2 separate regions of the Homo sapiens genome follow, and region 1 is linked to region 2. The links are contacts of gene promoters, found by promoter capture Hi-C in human tissues and cell types (Jung and others, 2019). All regions are on one chromosome and are shown on one strand. Each heading gives the region's core, a stretch centred on a gene start or on the middle of the fragment in contact. The rest is flanking DNA. Distances are from core to core; before and after follow the strand shown.

Region 1 (3,785 bases), core at 415-2,914, 1.1 Mb before region 2:
CAAATGGCAGAGGGTAGTTCTTTGGTGGAAACTTTGTCTCCACAACCTAGAAAAGGGAGAATGAACATTGGGCAGGCAGAAATCACAACAGACATCTTTTGTGGAATTTTAAATAACTTCTGGAATATTAGTCACTGCTCTGTCTAGCCTGACTGTTTCCAGGCTTGCTAAAGGAACAATAGCAAGGCTGACTTGAAATGCTGGCAGAAGCTTTGCTGTTCTGTATTTGAGGGTAAAAGAAGGAGCAGTTTGAGGAGAATGTGAATGTTGAGCTGTCCATCTGTCTTTCTCTCTAAGGATGCAAAAGCAAGAATGGTCAGATATACATTTACTGATGGATCGTTGACTTTTTAAAATTCCTATGAAAAAGCAACCTGTAATCCTTTGAGATTTTAGAAGTGATAAAATGAATCCCCTCTAGTCAACTACCCTAATGGGAAATACAACAGACACTTATTTATTCTAGCTTTACATTAACAAAGGTTATGTGATAGAATAGCTTTCAAGAATGCTGTTTCTAGAACTTTCTGTTTGGTCAAAGAATGAATATTATACAGTCACAAACACATGGCCAGCCACCTGAGGAAAGGCAGCATCTAAATGACACTATGAGATAGGAAGTTCAAATAGTCAAGTGTTTATTAAGGTGGGTATTCTGAAGTCTCATCAAACTTTAGCCCACATATATTGAGCAATGACTGTATACTGTATGATTTACTGTGCCTTGGGCATGCAGATATATTAATGACATGACCTCTGGTGTCTAACAGGGATGATCTGCTTATAACAGGTTCTACATCAGATTAATTCAAAGAAAATGGAGAAGAGGACTTATAGTGAAATGTCAGGAATTTTATGTTTTTCAATAAATGGAGCTTCATTCCTAGACCTACTGATGGAATGAATAGAGTAAAATTCAATTTTAGGATTTTTGTTCCAAAAGTCCTTACAGCTAAGGGGCGTAGATGTTAATCTCTGAAATGGGTGAGTTTGTTTTGTCTTAAATTGTGTACTGCCAGGATATATGATGTCAGACAAAATAGATTCAGGCATTGATTTCCGGGTGAGTTTAATTGATTGCTATTTCTTTCTGCTTGACTAGAGATTGAGGTTTGCTGATGTTTCTGCATGTCTAATATAATTTCCATTTGGTATTTGGCTTGCTTATGTAAAGGAATACATATTCAATTGAGTTGAGAAAGACCAGACCATGGTTGTTCAAAACCCTGGGGATGTGGCTTATGCTTGTTAGCACTTAGTCTTCTCTGGTTTCTACACACAGTTTCATTGTGACACCAAGCTCCCTGTCAACTTTCACCACAAAATAAGTACAAAAATATTTACATGGGTGTAAAGACTGATGGTTGCCTTAACATCTATGGCCAGTGGAGGGAAATAACTCATTAGAAGGATTAGAAGACCTGGGCCAATTTAAAATTATGTATAAATGCCAGATTCTAATGAGCATTTCAGCCACAGTGGGTGACAGTAAATTAATGTAAGCAAGGTTTGTCTTCTTTTCTTTACTTTCTCAAATCTCAGTGGGAGACATGTAGAGTTGGGGCCTGTTGCTACCATCTCAAGTACAAACATTTCTTTATGTCTGTAGTGAAAGTGGGGATCTGTTGTTGGGTCATTTCAGCCCATCTCAACAAATGCAGGTATCGAAGTGTGTGTTTGCAGGATGAAGACAAGCTGCATTCCAGGAAGAAAGTTTTCAGGCAAATAGTTTCAGGACCAATCATCAGTTATATCAGGACAAACAGGACTTCTTCATGATCGAGGGAGCCCAGGCTATTGTCAATTCCTGAAGCTTCCAATACATTGAAAAATGAAGGAATCTTGAAACAGGTTATAAAAATTGGATATATTTATATTCTTTTCATTGAAGAAATTTATGCTTTTTACACAGTCAAGTGCAGTGACTAAATGCGTGATCTTACTTGAGGATATGTCTAGCAATTACTCCCTGGACATTTGGGAATATAAGGCCAATACCATGAAAGACAGAGGGCAGAGGAAGAAGGAAGCTGGATTTTAGGCTATGTCACTGAACCACTGAATGACTCCTCACCTGAAATCCTCAGGTAAATGTCCTACTGCTATACTCTTCGTAGTTGAGCCAGTAAATTATTTTCTAAGTCAGGATGAGTTAGGTGCTGGTTCCTTGCAGCTGAAATCATCCTAGCTGATGTGGACCTGCTTCTGCCCAGTGCCTCCACCCTTTAACCACTCTTAGCACTCACACAATGCTGAGGCTGTCTTCATTTAATTGAAAGGTTAATTATAGGTGGAGGTCTGTTGTAGAATATGTGGTTATTTTGGTCTCTGCAACAGTAAACAGGTTTGACAGTGCTCTGACTGACTTGACTGGATGGATGGATTGTTGATATGACATAATTCTAGCTATTAGCTGTCAATCCTTTCATCCTGAAAGATGCTGTTTTCTCATTTCTTTACACTGGTTTGACAATTTATACAGCTTGAAATGCTTTCCTATGCATTATCTCATCTGATCATAAATCCACACTTGGGGTTATAGAATAGACATTTTCTACTTTTTCAGTGGAGGAAGCTGAGACAGCAGCCGCCCCAGGCCAACATAAACATAGAATCCAGGGCTCCCCATGAAATGTGTGTGACCTCCCTGGCTCCACATGGATGGGCCAGTCTAATCAGTGTCTGCATTGTTGGTCTGCATTAGGCTATAAGCGACTGAATACAGTGACTCAGACCAATCCAAGCAGCAAGGATATCCATGGTGCTATGTAACAAGAAATTCGGAGTCAGAATGCGGTCTAGGCATGGATGTCAGGCTCTGGAGACTATCTGCATTTTTCTGGTCTCCCATTGCCTTTGAGGGATTGGCGTCATCCTCCAGAGATGGCAAGGTGGCCACAGCTGATCCAGGCATTATCTGACTCAACAACATCCAGGAGCAGGACCTTCTCTTCTCCTGTTCTTTATTGGAGCCTGGAAACCTTTTCCATAAGGACATGCAGCAGACATTTCCATTTTATCTGCACTGGGTCCATGCCCACTCCCCCATCAGTCATTGAAGGGGAAAGGGAGCCTATAATCCTCTTAGAATAACCTGCTGATGAGAATCAGTTGTTGGATAGTGAACCACAGTAACCCCCACAGCATGCATCTAAAATGCGCTGACCTAGAGTATGCAGCAGGTGAAGAAAGTTGGCCTGGACATGGTGGATGGCTGCTGTCACAGCCCCTCATTTGTTCATGCCTCTCTGTGTCCTGGTATTTGCGTCAGTGTGGTCCACTCTCACGCTGACTCAGGACCTGGCCAGAGGACTTGTTTAGGTCAATGAGAAAAAAATCAAATATTACACAAAGGGCTTGTCTTCTATTTGCTCTTGGGAACTGTTACGGACTGATTGCATCCCACTAAAATTCATAGGTTGAAGCCCTAACTCCCAATGTGACTGTATTTGAATGTAAAGCCTTTAAGGAAGTAATTAAAGTTAAATGTGGCCAGAAGGGTAGGGCCCTACTCTGATAGGACTGTGTTCTTATAAGAGGAGGGAGAGATACCAGAGACTACTTCCTCTCCACAGGCTCACAGAGGAAAGGTCACATGAGGACAGAGCAAGAAGGCACCCGTCCACAAGCCAGGAAGAGAGGCCTCACTGGAAACCAGTCCTGCTGGCATCTTGATCTTAAATTTCCAGCCTTCAGAACTGTGAGAAAGTGAAGTCATATTGTTTAAGGCCCCCCATAGTCGGTGGTATTCTGTTATGGCAGTTCTAGCAAACTCATACAAGAAC
Region 2 (3,731 bases), core at 1,017-3,516:
CATTCTTTGGAGGCACTGCTTTGTATTTTAGGTCATATTTTTCTTTTCTGTCTCAGCAATCTTTGCTGCTGCATTCAGAGTAAGTCTGATAAACCAATGCTCTCTACTGGACTCCTGTCAGTTACTGCAGTGTTTCTGAAACTATGTATTTCGGAAAATGCGAGTTCCCGTAAGACATTACAGCTGTGTAAGAAGGTTTCTTTGAACAAAGTTGGGGCCATGCTGCGTGTGCCAGGGTCCCAGCTCTGGGTGAGAATGCTGGCACTGCAGCTTTCCCCGTGCCTGCCCTCTGCACCCTCCTCTGCCTGACTGTATAGTGGAGTTAGAAGGACTCCAAGAGCAACTTTACATAAAGCTCCTACACATGTCCCTGGCACATAGCTAGCACCTTGTAAGGACAGGCTATTGTCAAACTCTACCCTTTCTGGAAATCACGCTGCAGTAGACTCAAGATTCATTCAGTAGTAGAGGGAGATGTGCTTAACACAGTGTTTGGAGTTCAGGACCCACCTGCTCCTGGACCCCAGTCTCCCTGCCACACACTCATACCTTTTCTTTTTCAAATTGGCGCGCTCCTCAGCGCTTCAACAGTTTCGCAGAGCACGTTGGAGCAAATGCGGGGGTCTGTGATGCCTCTCCAAAGAAATAACTCGCATAATGCTCAGGCCTCCTGCAGACAAAGGTGTATCCCCAGCGACAGATATTTTAAGAAAATAGACCAGGGACACAAGACAAGAGAGCTGTCTTGGTGTCTAAAGCAGTCTTGGACAGCTTCTGATGTCGCTCGAGCAGTGGTGAAGCACCTTGAATAAGGAGGAAAGCAGAGGGGGCGTCTTCCCAAAGGACGGGCACATGGCCGAGGAATGGAATTCTCTGTCCATGAGGATTTTGGATGGATCTGTTCATGAAACCTCACTGGCTACGCAGGACCTTCGAGTGAGTCTAAACCTCCAGCCATGTCAACTGGTAACCTCTCCTTCTTCGGCTAGGTGGGGAGTGGGACAAGGCCATAACTGATAGGAGTCCAGGCTGGGGCAGATTTTGTGTCTCCTGACTAGTTCCATAGTTAAGTTGCAAAACCGAATCTCGCCTTGTGCTCTCGGATGTAGTGCTTACTCTGGTCCTCTGGGGTTATCTAAAATCTGGTTTCCTTAAGCGTAAGGCAGAGCTCTAACCGGGAGACCACCCTGCCCCCAAGGGTGGGGGTTCTGGGAGGGAGAGAGGGAAGCGGCTGCTCTGTAGCTTTCTCTACTGGCTTGCCCAAGTGGACTCTGATCTTGGAGCTCAACAGTGTCACTCAATCTTCCACCCTCTCCTTTGCAACCTATTTCTTAAACCAGAACTAATGTATTCTGGACACAGAGTCCCTGAAACCCCAGACAAAGAAAATTCGATGTATCTGAACAAACAAAACCGCGTTTCTTTAAATCTCCAAGCCAAAAGGAAAAGTGCAGAAACATTTACTCACTGTCCGACCTGTACATATATTTTACCTGATAACCCTTAAAGAAGTGCCCCCCAGTTCAGCCATCACCCATGCAGGGCAAAGGGAGCTGGAGCTGGCCCAGCCTGTCGGCGCAGACACTCCTGACAGCTCCTGTCTGGGCACTTCTTTCTTTCTTGGAGCTTCTAATTTCTTTCTTGGCTTCTGAGGCCTAACAGGGTGTTTTGATGCACACACAGGAATTACTACCGTCCCCAATCCTAGGGTACATCCCTAGCCCAGGCCAGGGCTTTGAGTTTTCCTAGGAGCGGGAGGGTCTGCAAAGCCCCACAGGCTGAAATCTCAGCGTGGCCCTCTGCTCATCTGCTCCAGGTGGAAACTCTCACCCCTGAGCTGCCCGACCTGGGTTCAAGCCCGGGTCAGGGGAGTTAGCAAGGAGACACCTGAAAAATAAAAGGACAGAATGGAAGTGCACACTCCCACCGCGGGCCCGGGCGGGAAGTCGGACTAAGACCGCGGCGGGACCGCCCCATCCAGAAAGGGTGCCCCGGGTGTGGGGGCGGAAACCCCAGCGCTGTCTTCAGTCTCCACACCCGCGCCTTTTTCCCCTGGAAAACGAGCGTCCTTGGCCTCTTCGGCCGCAACCGGGCGGCTCCAGACGTCCAGGAGGGCAGAGGCTGGGCTGGTGCGGCGCGGGGGGCGCGGGCGCGGGCTCTGCGCCTTTAAGGCCCGCGTCGGCAGAGCGAGCGCAGGGGCCGGGCGGCGGGGCGGGGCCTCGGCGGGGCGGCCGCGGCTTCACCTGCAGCTCCGAGCGCGCGGAACAGAGGCGCGGGCGGCTGCGAGGCCGGCGGACGCACCGGCCCGAGGGAACGCGCCGCCGGCCGGACTTGGCCTGGCTCCCGGAGCCGGGGCGGCGAGCGCGGCGGGCGCAGCGGGGCTGGAGGCTCCGGGCAGGCGCGGGGGAGCGGCGGCGGCGGCGGCGATCGGAGCGGCGGCGGTGGTCTCGGCGGCGGCGGCGGCGGCGGCGGCAGGGAGCGGGCTCCCGGTGCCGGGCACCGGGCGGGCGGCGGGGAAGATGACCGCGGGCGCCGGCGTGCTCCTTCTGCTGCTCTCGCTCTCCGGCGCGCTCCGGGTAAGTTGCCGCCTCCCGCCCCCGCCGTTCGGAAGCCCCGGGCAGCGGGAGGTCGTCCCCGGATCCCGCGGGGCGCTCACACACCCGGCGGGGCTCTCCCGGGCTCCCCCGCCGCGCTCCCCGCTGCATCCAGCCCGGCGCCCGCGCTCGGCGAAGCTGCCTGCGGTCGGCAGGAGCGGGAAGCCGCCTGGGCAGCGGGGAGCGGCGGAGCAGGGTGGGAGTGGGGCTCGGTGGAGGACCCGGGGAGCTCCGCCTGCACCGGACCCGCCGAGCCTCCCTCGAACGCCCAAAGCCCGTAGCCGCTACCCGGAGCTCGGCTTGCCTGCATGGGGCAGGCTTCCACTGGCGGAGCCGGCGCGCCCTCCATCGCCCGGGAGCCGCGCGCCGCGGGAGTTGCCGAGCCCAGCCCCGGCCGTGGCTGAAGGCGTGGGGCGCCCGGCGGCTGCGGGCCAGGGATCCGCGAGTGCGGGGCGCCTGCCCGACCTCTCCTGCCCAAGGCCTGGGGGTCCGTCTAGCGGCGCCGCTCAGTTCTGTGGGTGCCGGCAGGACCCGCGCTGCGGGTGGGCGGCGGGGTAGGACTGCGGGGCACTCTCACCCCCGAGCCCTCGGCGGGGCTGGAGCCTGCGTGTCCGGCGGGGCCCCGGGGGCTGGGAGCTGGGCCGGGCTTGGGCCGGGAAGCCGGACGCCGGGCGGGCGCGGCGCGGGAGGGCGCCCCGGGAGGGCGAGCGGGTCTCCCGCTGCCTCTGCAGAGCCCCGCGGGCCGGATTGCCAGCTTTGCTCTGCGCCTGGCGAGGTGCGCGGCCCGCGGGGGCAGAGAGCGCGGCGGCTCCGGGGGCGCCCCTGGGCGGAGGCGGAGGGGCGGCGGGAGTTGCAGGAACCCCCTCTCGTGGCCGATCGGCCTCGCTGCCTTCTCCCGGGCAGCGCTGTTGTAACCTCGGAAATAAACAAGTGCCAGCGGCGGGAGGCCCGCTCCGAGGCCGCGGGGCGCTGGGGGACGCGCTGGGCACACGCTTCGGGCGGGCGGAAACTTTCCTGGGCGAGTTGAGCCTCCCACCGGGCTGCGGGTGCGATTTGGAGCTTCGTGGCCGATGAAGAAAGCCGCGGTTTAGAGCTTTTCGTAAGGAATGACCCTGCGTCCCGCTCTCCTCCCTCGGT

The links. Contacts are between HindIII fragments. The study calls those that stand out against the background at their distance.
Region 1: a contact is called between a fragment that was not itself captured here and the fragment with the promoter of CDH4 in region 2, in 1 of the 25 tissues and cell types used here (dorsolateral prefrontal cortex).

What each region holds. Positions count from the first base shown.
Region 1 is chr20:60,166,770-60,170,554 of GRCh38, forward strand. All of the region lies in intron 2 of MIR646HG (MIR646 host gene), which reads left to right. Among named protein-coding and RNA genes, the nearest start is that of MIR646HG, 30 kb to the left of the region's middle. The HindIII fragment of the contact is 4,329 bases long and covers 1-3,785 here.
Region 2 is chr20:61,249,995-61,253,725 of GRCh38, forward strand. It overlaps CDH4 (cadherin 4), which reads left to right and starts at 2,267. Exons shown (of 16, transcript NM_001794.5): 1 at 2,267-2,576. The coding sequence starts at 2,520. The HindIII fragment of the contact is 10,940 bases long and covers 1-3,731 here.